Regions from separate parts of the Homo sapiens genome. Here region 2 is linked to region 1. Evidence: promoter capture Hi-C in 16 types of primary human blood cells and fetal thymus (Javierre and others, 2016). All regions are on one chromosome and are shown on one strand. Each heading gives the region's core, a stretch centred on a gene start or on the middle of the fragment in contact. The rest is flanking DNA. Distances are from core to core; before and after follow the strand shown.

Region 1 (5,833 bases), core at 2,161-4,660:
ACTTCTCTGCACAAGTTTGAAGTGTTTACTAATCCCTCCTTGAAACAGTTTCCCTTCCCTAATTTGTGTGAAACTATACTCTCATGATTTTCAACCCTCTATTGAATCTTCCAATTTTCCTCTGTCATCTTTGCCAATCTAATCCATTTCCAATCTCAGCTATAACCGCTCTTTGGATACAGTGTGTATATCCAGCTCTGGCCTCTCAATCAAGTTCCAATCCCAGGATTCCAACTGGGTATTTTTTTCCTTTTTTATTGTCCCCCAGTTTTGTTAATTGACAAAAAATTATACTTATGGTATACAATGCAAAGTTTAGATACATGTATACTTTGTGAAGTGATTAAATCAAGCTCATTAACATATCTGTCACCTCACATACTTGTCATTTTTGTGGGGAGACCATTTAAGATCCACTCTCCTAGCAATTTTCAAATACACAAAACATTATTCACTGTAGTCACCATGCTATTCAATAGATCTTCAGAACTTATCCATCCTGGCTAACTGAAACCGTACCCTGAGCAACATTTCCCCATTCCCCTCCCACAAGGTCAACTCTATCTCATTGATATCCAAAATCAATTACTTCCAACTGAACTCATCTTTCCTGCATTTTTCCCCCGTTCCTTTTTTGTATCAGTGGTACACCAATAATATGCCCTAAACATACAGCCTAGAAACTTAGATTTTCCCCACCCCTTCCTTGCCTTCCACTTGCTTAACTGGTTGTAAAATCATAATGATTCTTTTTCCAACATTTTCTTTTTCATTCTACCACCACCCTACCCATTATTGATTGCAAAAATCATTACAAAGACCTACTAATTGGTTTCCCAGACTCAGTCTCTTGTTTCTAATGATCTTTCACAGCTATGAGATTAATCTTCCAAGAGTACAACTCTAAATCCTTCATCTCCAAAAATGCCCCACTGCCTATGAAACGAAGACCAAATTCCTTGACCCAGCACTCAAATCCTTCATAATCCGGCCCCAATCACCTTACTAAACTTTTTCACCACTCTGCTAAGTACTTGCAAATCTCCATACATGCCCATGTTTTCCAGTTGGCTTTTTTTCATGCTGTTCCCTATGCCTAGAAAGTCCTCCCCTCCCATCATATCTGAATGTCTAAATCCTTCTAAAGTCAGTGTTCAAGGTTCAGCTCACATGTCTTCCCAACCTCCCCAGCCAAAAATAAAATGAAATAAATCTTCTCTAATCCATCCTAATTAGAAGTAATCTCTTCTCCCTCAGTGCACTCTGAATGTAACTTTCTTAGGTCCCTGTTCAACTTGTAATAAATTTATAATTATCTCTTTAATAGATTATAGACTCTTGGAGAGGACAGACTGTTAACCTCCAGTGCCTTACATTTACAACAAATAGTAACTATTTATGGAAAGAGCAAATGGAATTTTGTAGAGTAAGTCTAACCCCTTTTCCACATGACAGCTCTTCAAATCATTAAATCTTTCAATTATTATCAATAATAATCACTACATTAATTACTAATGAGTAATAATTATAGCTTACATTAATCACTAATAATATAGTAATACAGTAATAGCTACATTAATACTAACAATAATTAGCCACATTACCCCTCTTATAACAATTGCTATGATTACATTCACTCTCTCTGAGGATCTTAATAGATTTCAGTTAACTAAGACCTCTGGGCCTCTTTTATCACCCACCCTAATCCTGTAAAGTTGGTACTTTAGGAATCTAAGAGCAGGACTTTACTTCTACTCCTATTAAAGTTCATCCTGTTACAGCCAGATGTGGTGGCTCACACCTGTAATCCCAGCACTTTGGGAGGCCAAGGCAGGTAGATCACTTGAGGTCAGGAGTTCGAGACCAGCCTGGCCAACATGCTGAAACCCCATCTCTACTAAAAATACAAAATTAGCCGGACATGGTGATGCGCCTGTAATCCATTACTTGGGAGGCTGAGGCGGGAGAGTTGCTTGAACCTGGAAGGCAGAGGTTGCAGTGAGCCAAGACCGCACCACTGCACTCCAGCCTGGGCGACAGAGCGAAACTCTATCTCAAAAAAAACTCCATCTTAAAAAAAAGATCTCAAAAAGAAAAAAGTTCATCCCATTAGTTTCAGTTCCAGTAGCCATCAATCTGCTTTAACCACTGTTTTACAAATCTGATAAACATGGCTCACAGCAAGAATTCTCAACTCCTCAAGACACACATATGTGTTCCAGGCATCCTTCCCTAAGTGTGCGCCCACTGATGCATAAAGTCTACCAAGATTGTCGTTAATATACTTTAACTTTAACCTAGGGCTTCCTTAAAGTCAGCATCTGTGGCAGAGAACAAACCCTTTCAGCTATTAAGACAGAAAGTAAGCTCAGTAAAATTGGAGAATGACATTTTCAAATACCATTACCCAAACTTTGTACCTTTAGTGACCATATCCTTATTTCACTTGAAGTATGCAAGCAACAGCTTTCAAAAGGGGTATCTAATTGAGATAACTTTATATTAAATCTGTACGAAGTCATACAACCTACCTTGTAAGGCCAAAGGAATAGCTTCAATCTGGATCTTGGTGGGTTTTGTCCATCCCAACTGGTCACAAGCTTCACACAACACATCTGTCACACCCTTGGAATTCAGAAAAATATACCTTAGCCAAGAACAGCACACCCCTACCTCCCTCCTACTTAACTGACTGTCAGACCCATCATGTACAACCATTGTATTTGATTTAAAAGGTATTTACTGTGCATCTCAGAGCCTACTCTTTAACTATACCATGAGACAGTAGCTCAAGACTTAACGAACACTTTCTGCTCACCAAGGCCAAGGCCAGGTGCTTTACATGTATCATCTCATTTAATCGTCACAACAATTCTGCGAGGTAAGTACTTATTACTATCCCCAATTTACAGATGTGGAAAGAGAAACACAGAGAGGTAACAACTTGTCCTCAGTAAGAGACTGTGTCAAAATTCAAATCTGGTTGGTTCATCTGACTCCAAAGCTCCAGTTATAAAGAGACCAATTCCATTCCCCATATGTACAACCTCCTGGATGCACATACAAACGTTGCCACACTAAAGTGGCGAATAGGGCAAATAGGGGGTCTCAGGGCCCAGCAGCCCTCCCACCACCCAAACTCAGAGCACGTCCGAAACCCAGCCCTCTGAAATTCTGGGGAAAACCCAAGCTAGGCCCCAAGATGCTTTTGTACACTATCAGAGCGGGATCTAAGGTACCTGGGGTCTCCCTGAGCCTAGCACCAGAGTACATAAAAGAAGCCAGCGTCATCCATTCTCACCAGGTCTTTAAATGTTTTAGTTTCCTCCTCTTCCACAATCGGCTGGGACGCTTCGGTCGGAGAATCGTGTTCCTCGGGTGCCGCCATCTTGTGTGAGGTCTCCGGAAGTGGGTCTGCGGCGCGCGGGATGCTGGGAAATGTAGTTTTAGTTCTCCCCGGACGACGTGCTCTGCGCGCCCCCTGCGGGCTTGCCGGGGATTGCACCCGTCCGCTAGGCAGGTGGGGCCCAGTGAATATGGGCGCGTAGGCTTGCGGAATAGATCCGAGTGCAGAAGGGGCTGATCACCAGGGACTCCAGTTGACCTTTAGGTCCCTTTTAAAGAGCCTTCCCTACGTGTGTCGCCAGTTATGTTCCCCGCTTTTCTAACCATAGAGTTTGGAACGGATTGATATTACAATACTATTTTTTTATTATGTCATTACTTTATTCAATAATGTTGAGAACCTACCATTTGCTAAGGCTATGCTAGATGGCTGGTGAATAGGACAGCGACCCCTGCCCTCGTGAAGAAAAAGAAGACAGATCATAAATAAGCTATCACAGAGCATTTCAAATTGTGAAAAGTAGCTGGGTGTGCTCACGCCTGTAACCCCAGCACTGTGGGAGGACGAGGCGGGCGGATCACTTGAGCCCAGGAGTTCGAGACCAGCCTGGGCAACGTGGCGAAACCCTGTGTCTGCAAAATGCAAAAATCAGTCAGGCATGCATGGTGGCATGCGCCTGTAATCCCAGCTATTCAGGGGGCTGAGGTTGAGGGATCAGTTGACCCCGGAAGTTGAGGCTGCAGTGAGTGGAGATGGTGCTACTGTACTCCAGCCTGGGCAACAGAGTGAAACCCTGTTCACATAAAAATTACAGAGTAACCTGGGGAGGGTGGGTTGTGGGGATAACTGTGAGATTGGGAAGGCCTCTCTGAGACAGTGATATTTGAGTTAAGACCTCACTGTTGAGCAGGAGAAAACGCTTTAAGATCCCAGGAGATAATCATTCCAGAGTGAGAGAATTCCAAGTACCAAGACTGTGAAGCTACTAAGGCTATTCTGGAAAGCAGCAAATTCAGAGCTGTATGTTGCATGCCCCATGGCCAGCGAGTGCCCTCCTGTGGCCTGTCACTTGGGTCTCACACTGCGCAGGGTGCTCGTTGCAGTTTTATTCCTGAGGATGGGAAGTTGGGGGCAATCTGGTGTCCGTCACTGGGAAAATGCATAGTTAAAATGTGAACATGGTGTCTACAAACATGCCCTTAACAATATGATTAGATCTGAAAAACCTAGTGCTTAGTGAGAAAAGCATAAAATATATCAAGTATATTAAAATATAGGCCCACAGATATCACATTCTGCTAAAACACATCCAACAGAAGATACACTTGAAATATTTTAGAATGGTTGCCTGCAGAGGGAGAAGAATTAGAATAAAACTGGGAATTGGGAATAAAAGAATTAAGTGTATAAGACAATAGGCCGGCCGCGGTGGCTCACACCTGTATCTTAGCACTTTGGGAGGCCAAGGCAGATGGATCACTTGAAGTCAAGAGTTCGAGACCAGCCTGGTCAACATAGTGAAATCCAGTCTCTACTAAAAACACAAAAATTAGCCAGGCATGGTGGCCTGTGCCTGTAATCCCAGCTACTCGGGGGGCTGGGGCAGGAGAATTGCTTGAACCCCGGAGGCGGAGGTTGCAGTGAGCTGAGATCATGCCATTGCACTCCAGCCTGAGTGACAGCGCAAGACTCCGTCTCAAAAAAAAAAAAAAAAGGATAATAAATACACAAAGCAAGAGAGGAGACTTGTGATGCCAGTGTGCTTGACCTGAGAATTGTGAGGAACTCAACTCAATGTGCCTGCCGACCTCCCCACCACCACAACTAAAAAAGGGCCCTGATTTAGGCATCACAGCAGTGTCTCAACAACAAAAAGGGTAGGATGTGGTCAGAGAATTGGGCTCAGCTCAGACTCTGCAGGACCCTGTTGTAAAAGGTCTGGGGTTTTGGATGTTATCCTAAATGCAGAAGGAAGCCACTGGGGGTTTAGAGCAGGGAAGAGACATGATCTACACATTTAAAATATTACTCTAACTCTATATGGAGATAGGCTGTAGAAAGAGTGAGAAAAGGAGACCATCTAAGACAGCGGTCCCCAACCTTTTTGGCACTAAGGACTGGTTTCGTGGAAGACATTTTTTGCACAGAATTGGGGCGGGGATGGTTTCAGGATGATTCAAGCACATTACATTTATTGTGCAGTTTATTTCTATTATTATTACATTGTAATATATAATGAAATAATTGTACAACTTGCCATAATGTGGAATCAGTGATAGCCCTGAGCTTGTTCTCCTGCAACTAGATGGTTCCATGTGGGGGTAATGGGAGACAGTGACAGATCACCAGGCATTAGATTCTCATAAGAACCACGCAACCTAGATCCCTTGCAATAGGGATTGTGCTCCCAAGCGAATCTAATGCCGCAGCTGATTTACCAGGAGGCGGAGCTCAGGTAGTAATGCTTGCTCACCTGCTACTCACCTC
Region 2 (6,373 bases), core at 2,343-4,842, 83 kb before region 1:
CCTCTTCGCAACCAGAGAGATGGGGAAAGTGTGTAGAGTTGCTTGTGACTAGGCCTGGAAGTTTGCCCATGCTTATTCTACGCAGTCCTTCCCAGAGCATCTGAGAATGAATCATCTGGGGCCCAGAACCTTGCAAAGACAAACTGACTTTGTCTTCCTTCCTATGAGATTTCTCTCATTCTGTCAAAATGTGTCTTCGCGCCAGCCCAGCCCTGAAAATGTGTGACTTTCTAGCATTTTCATTTTTTCTCTATTCTCGAATTGCTACATTCAGTCAGTAGTAATAACAGTCATGATGTAATTATGAGTAAGAATAATGACAGCTACTGTCACCTCCTGAGTCCTATTATGAGTCAGGCACTATGCTGAGTAGTTATGTATTTTTACACATATTCTCTCATTTACATGCTTTTACATCCATTACCTCATTTAACATTCCTACAGCCCATTTTATAGGTGAGAAACCTAACAGAGTGAGGAAGGTACATGTCCAGTGTCACATGGTCAGAAAGAATAGCTCTTTATAAGTAGTCATAATCATAATTCAATCCTCCTTTTCACCTCTAAATCACTGTCATCATCTCTAGAGCTTTTCTCCCTGACCCCAACCTCTCTCCATTTAAACCACCATATATTCAAGCATTGGCTTGCTGAGAAGTCTCCAAAACAAGCAACCCTGGCCGGGGGCAGTAGCTTACGCCTGTAATCCCAGTACTTTGAGAGGCCGAGAGATGGGAGGACCACTCGAGCCCAGGAGTTTGAGACCAACCTGGGCAGCATAGTGAGACCCCCGCTGTACAAAAAGAAATTAAAAATTAGCCGGGTGCTAATTTAGCCAGGATCACACCTGTGATCCCCCTACTCGGAGGGTGAAGCAAGAGGATTGCTTGAGCCCAGGAACTCGAGGCTGCAGTGAACTATGATCATGCCATTGCACTCCAGCCTGGGCAACAGAGTGAGACCCTGTCTCAAAACAAAAAACTAAATAAATAAATATAAAATTGTGGCCACTGCCCTTGGAATGAATAATAATCACACTGACATACAACTAAGAAGTTATGGAATACATTAGGAATGCTGAGGGCACATGGAAAACAGTGACCCATTCTACCTAGTGGGGTTTTAAAATAATTATTTTTAATGTTTAATGCTTTAGGGAAGAAAGCAGGGAGATGAAACATGAAAGATGAACAGGAAATGGTAGGAGATTTTTATGAAGGTAGAAGAGACAGGGCTTTGGGAATGGAAAAGCCCAGGTTAACTCCCAGATTTCTGGCTTAGGCAACTGAGTGGCACCACTGTCAGAGCCTAGAAATACAGGCTTGAAAGGAGAGATGCTAAGTGTAGCTTTGTTGGCTCTTTGATAAATATGCGACCTGCACGTGGAGCTATCCAGGAATAACAAGTCAAAAGACCCAAGTCCTCTTGAGAGTTTCCTCTGAGCCATATATGGTTTCCTTTCTTTTTTCTTTTTTTTTTTCTTTTGAGACAAAGTCTCTCTGTCGCCCAGGCTGGAGTGATGCAATGGCACAATCACAGCTCACGGCAGCTTCGACTTCCTGGGCTCAGGTGATCCTCCTACCTCAGCCTCCTGAATAGCTGGGACAGGTGCGCACCACCACATCTAGCTACTTTTTGTATTTTTTGTAGAGGTGGGGTCTCGCTATGTTGCCCAGGCAGCTCTTCAACTCCTGAGGCTCAGGTGATCTGCCCGCCTCGGCCTCCCAAAGTACTGGGATTACAGGCACAAGCCACTGCTCCTGGCCATATATGGTGTTATTTAATCCTCACAACAACCCTATTATTATGCCTTCCTTTAACAGCTGAGGAAACTGAGGCACAGAGAAATTACATAACTTGCCCAAGATTACATGACTCTTAAAAGCCAGGCTCCTTGACACTGGGTTGTGCTGTCTCTGCACCGTGGGCATATGGGTTGGTGCTCAGGAGAGGTTTGGGCTGTAAGCACAGACTGGCAGTCATCACCTAGAGTGGTATCTGAAGCCTCAAGAGGAGACAAGATCACATGGGAAGCCAAGGACAGAACCATGTGGAGCACCATCTCATCTAGGTAGGAGTCCGCAAAGGAGGTTAAAAAGAAATTATCGGCCGGGCGCAGTGGCTCACACCTGTGAGCCCAGAACTTTGGGAGGCCGAGGCGGGTAGATCACCTGAGGTCAGGCGTTAAGAGACCAGCCTGGCCAGCATGGTGAAACTCCATCTCTACTACAAATACAAAAATGAACCAGGCATGGTGGCTCACGCCTGTAGTCCCAGCTACTCAGAAGGCTGAGGCACAAAAACCGCTTGAACCCAGGAGGCAGAGGCTGCAATGAGCTGAGATCACGCCACTACACTCCAGCCTAGGCAACAGAGTGAGACATGGTCTCAAAAAAAAAAAAAAAAAGAAGCGTATTCGCTCCTTTTTGTCTGTCACGGCAGATCCAGCCCCAGTTTGAGCTTCAAGGCCTTTCTCCAATTAGTCCTCCCACCTATCTCCTCCTTCCTCCCTAACTCCCGTCTCCACCTCCGTGCAAGGCAAGCAAATCTTCCTAGAGTTCTGTATTTTCCATCTGGAAGGGAATTTGGGTTCATTTAAGGTCTTCTCATGCTCTTTGCCTCAACACATGAATTATTCTCCTAACCAGAAAGATCCTCTCCCTCCTATTTATGATCCACTTACCATATTTCTGCAAAACTTTGCCCAAGATTTAACCTCTATCATGAGTTTTTTAAATTATTATCATTATTACTATTAATCCTATGGCCTTTTTTTTTTTTTTTTTTTTAAGACAGGGTCTTGCTCTGTACTCCAGCCTGGGAGTACAGTGGCATGATCTCAGCTCACTGCAGCCTCTGCCTCTCAGGTTAAAGCGATTCTTGTGCCTCAGCCTCCTAAGTAGCTTGGATTACAAGCATGCGCCACCACATCCAGCTAATTATTATATTTTTAGTAGACGCAGGGTTTTGCTATGTTGGCCAAGCTGGTCTCGAACTCCTGGGCTCAAGTGATCCACCTACCTCAGCCTCTCACAGTGCTAGGATTACAGGCGTAAGCCATCACACCTGGACTTGAAATCCTATTGCACTCTAAATGTGTCGATCTCTTCATGGTTTTTACAATTAAATATTTCTTGGCACTCAAGTTTTTCCATATCTTTGTTATATATTACAAATTAATATCACTGCTGAGCTGCCTATCAGACAACAAGCTTCTTTGTGGCATCTATCTCCTAGGAAGATAGGAAGGTGGCGTGAGGCACCGTGCCTGGCCAGACAACAAGCTTCTTAAGAAAATAGAGCAAACTTCTATTTGTTGGTATCCCCCTTACTCTGTACTCTACACAGTGATTGCTGAGCAAATGCTTTGGACTAAGACTGAGTGCTGAATATTTACCCAAAGCAAGTTATTTATTGGCAAGTGTGAGTAATGGGGAGGAAAATTTTTTGGAGATGAATATGTGCTGATGTTAATCCTCGTATTTCTACCCAGGCTGAGTTCTTCTAAGGGAGAAGTCCTACAGAAATCCCTCTGCCCTTGATAAAGGATTATTTATAAATGCAAAGCGTCTACAGGGAAATCTCCAGGATCCCCTATTCTGGGTAGCCATCCCAACTCTGATGACATAAAAGTGATGAATCATGGCAATAACTTATGAATAACATCTGAATAACATCACTGAATTGAGTTTCTATGCAATAATGAGAGAAAATAAGTCATCATAGCACCACAGGCAGATCAAAACAAGTATAACCACGGTGTTCATCCCAATTTCTACACTTCCAGATAGTTCCCTGGGCGTATTACCATCTTCCTGTTACTCTAAACGAAACATGTAGACTTGATTAATGTGAATATAAAATGAAATACTGGAAATCATCTTTTTAAATAAAGCTTAATATTTGAGTGAAGCTTCTAAATCTCTTATGCCCGAATTCAAAGAAATGAAATTTCCAGAAAATAGGAAAATAAAGTGAAGTCCTCTACTAGTATACTATCCTTTTTTTTTTTTTTTTTTTTTGTGAGACAGAGTCTCACTATGTTGCCCAGGCTGGAGTGCAGTGGCGTGATCTCGGCTCACTGCAAGCTCCACCTCCTGGGTTCACACCATTCTCCTGCCTCAGCCTCCCGAGTAGCTGGGACTACAGGCACCCACCACCACGCCCGGCTAATTTTTTTTTTTTTTTTTTTTTTGTATTTTTAGTAGAGACAGAGTTTCACTGTGTTAGTCAGGATGGTCTTGAACTCCTGACCTCGTGATCTGCCCGCCTCAGCCTCCCAAAGTGCTGGGATTACAGGTGTGAGCCACCGCGCCGGCCCTCTACTAGTATACTATCTTAAGGCTCTCAAAGATCCCTTCATTTAAATATCTTATTCTGATACATAAGGGTAATATTCACTGGATCCAACAAGTTCAAAGCTAAACTGATCACCTCTCCTTACAAGCCTATCTTTCAAAGCCCTGAGAATGGCACTACCATCTACTCAGTTGCTAGTAGATCTAAAAATATGATATGATATATACTGTCTAATGCAGAAGGAGATGGAGACAACCAAACCATATAGCCTAAAATTAGATGACAATAACAAGTAACTATTATTACAAGAAATGTAAATGGTAACTATTTTGAAAAAAAAAAAGACTAAACTATATCATACCTAGAAGAACCTAACCTAAAACAAAAAGATACACAAGAGTTAAAAGCAAAAGAACAGAAAGAAATGAAAATAAAAAGAAATACTAACATAATATTTATTTAACAAGTATTATGTGTCAGACACAAAGTTAAGTAAGTTGTTCAAGGTAAAATAATTAAGTAGAAGTTAAGGTTTTAATATCATACAAAGTTGTAATCAAAGCAAAAAGATATTATATTGACCAAAAGGCTTGTTTTATAATAATTAGGGATGCTCTACACTGAAGATAAAACCATCCTGGGCCGGGCACGGTGGCTCACGCCTGTAATCCCAGCACTTTGGGAGGCTGAGGCGGGCAGATCACGAGGTCAGGAGATCAAGACCATCCTGGCTAACACGGTGAAACCCTGTCTCTGCTAAAAATACAAAAAATTAGCCGGGCATGGTGGCGGGCACCTGTAGTCCCAGCTACTCAAGAGGCTGAGGCAGGAGAATGGCGTGAACCCGGGAGGCAGAGCTTGCAGTGAGCCGTGATCGCACCACTGCACCCCAGCCTGGGTGACAGAGCGAGACTCTGTCTCAAAAAAAAAAAAAAAAAAAAAAAACCATCCTAGACTTTTATGCACCAACTAATATAGCACCAAAATACGTAAAACAAAAAGTACTGAAGGCTGGGTACAGAGGCTTACACCTATAATCCCAGCACTTTGGGAAGTGAAGGCAGGAAGATTGCTTGAGCCCAGGAGTTTGAGTCAAGCCTAGGCTACATGGCAAAACCCCATCTCTACAAAAAATTTAAAAATTAGCCAGGTGTAGTGGTGGGTGCCTGTAGACCCAGCTACTCAAGAGTCTGAGGCAAGAGGATCACTTGAGCTTGGGAGGTGGAGGTTACAGTCAGCCAAGATTGTGCCACTGCACTCCAGCCAGGGCAACAGAGCAAGACCCTGTCTCAAAATAAATAAATAACTGCTGAAAATACAAGGAGAACCCAAAGGCAATACTATAGTTGCATGAGACTTTCATACTTCTTTACCAGTCCTTGGCAGATAAAATATACAATATGAATAAGAACATGGTAAAATTGTGTAAATGTTCTATGGATACTTAAATAGAAATATTCTCTATCTTCATATCTTATTAGATCTCCATTACTAATCATATAATTCAGATCCTCTATATCAGTGATCAGCATAGATTTTCTATAAAGGGCCAGGTTATAAGCAATTTAAGACTCTGCAAGCCACACATTTGTAGCATGAAAGCAGCATAGATGATACATAAACATATGAGCATTGCTGTGTTTTAGTAAAATAGTGGATTACAGGTTGTGGCTCATGCCTATGATCCCAGCACTTTGGGAGGCCGAGGCAGGCAGATCACCTGAGGTCAGGAGTTTGAGACCAGTCTGGCCAACATGGTGAAACCCTGTCTCTACTAAAAATACAAAAATTACCCAGGCGTGGTAGCGGGCGCCTGTAATCCCAGCTACTTGGGAGCCTGAGGCAGGAGAATGGCTTGAAACCTTGAAACCGGGAGGCAGAGGTTTCAGTGAGCCGAGATCACGTCACTGCGCTCCAGCCTGGGCAAGAGCGAGACTCCATCTCAAAAAAACGAAAACAAAAACAAAACAAAACAAAACAAAAATCACTTTATTTACAGAAAGAGGCTATAGGCCATATTTGGTCCATGGACCATAGTTTGCCATCTCTACTCTATTATGATTGCTTAATAGGA

Evidence for each region. The method cuts DNA at HindIII sites, captures the fragments that hold promoters and counts their contacts. A CHiCAGO score of 5 or more calls a contact.
Region 2: a contact is called between a fragment that was not itself captured here and the fragment with the promoter of DDX47 in region 1, in 1 of 17 cell types (endothelial precursors). The highest score is 6.6, in endothelial precursors.

The regions. Positions count from the first base shown.
Region 1 is chr12:12,810,923-12,816,755 of GRCh38, reverse strand. DDX47 (DEAD-box helicase 47) reads right to left here and starts at 3,410. Exons shown (of 12, transcript NM_016355.4): 1 at 3,302-3,410; 2 at 2,532-2,625. The coding sequence starts at 3,388. RefSeq lists an enhancer at 3,274-3,583. The HindIII fragment of the contact is 15,992 bases long and covers 2,603-5,833 here.
Region 2 is chr12:12,893,644-12,900,016 of GRCh38, reverse strand. All of the region lies in intron 1 of GPRC5A (G protein-coupled receptor class C group 5 member A), which reads right to left. Among named protein-coding and RNA genes, the nearest start is that of GPRC5A, 5.3 kb to the right of the region's middle. The HindIII fragment of the contact is 611 bases long and covers 3,287-3,897 here.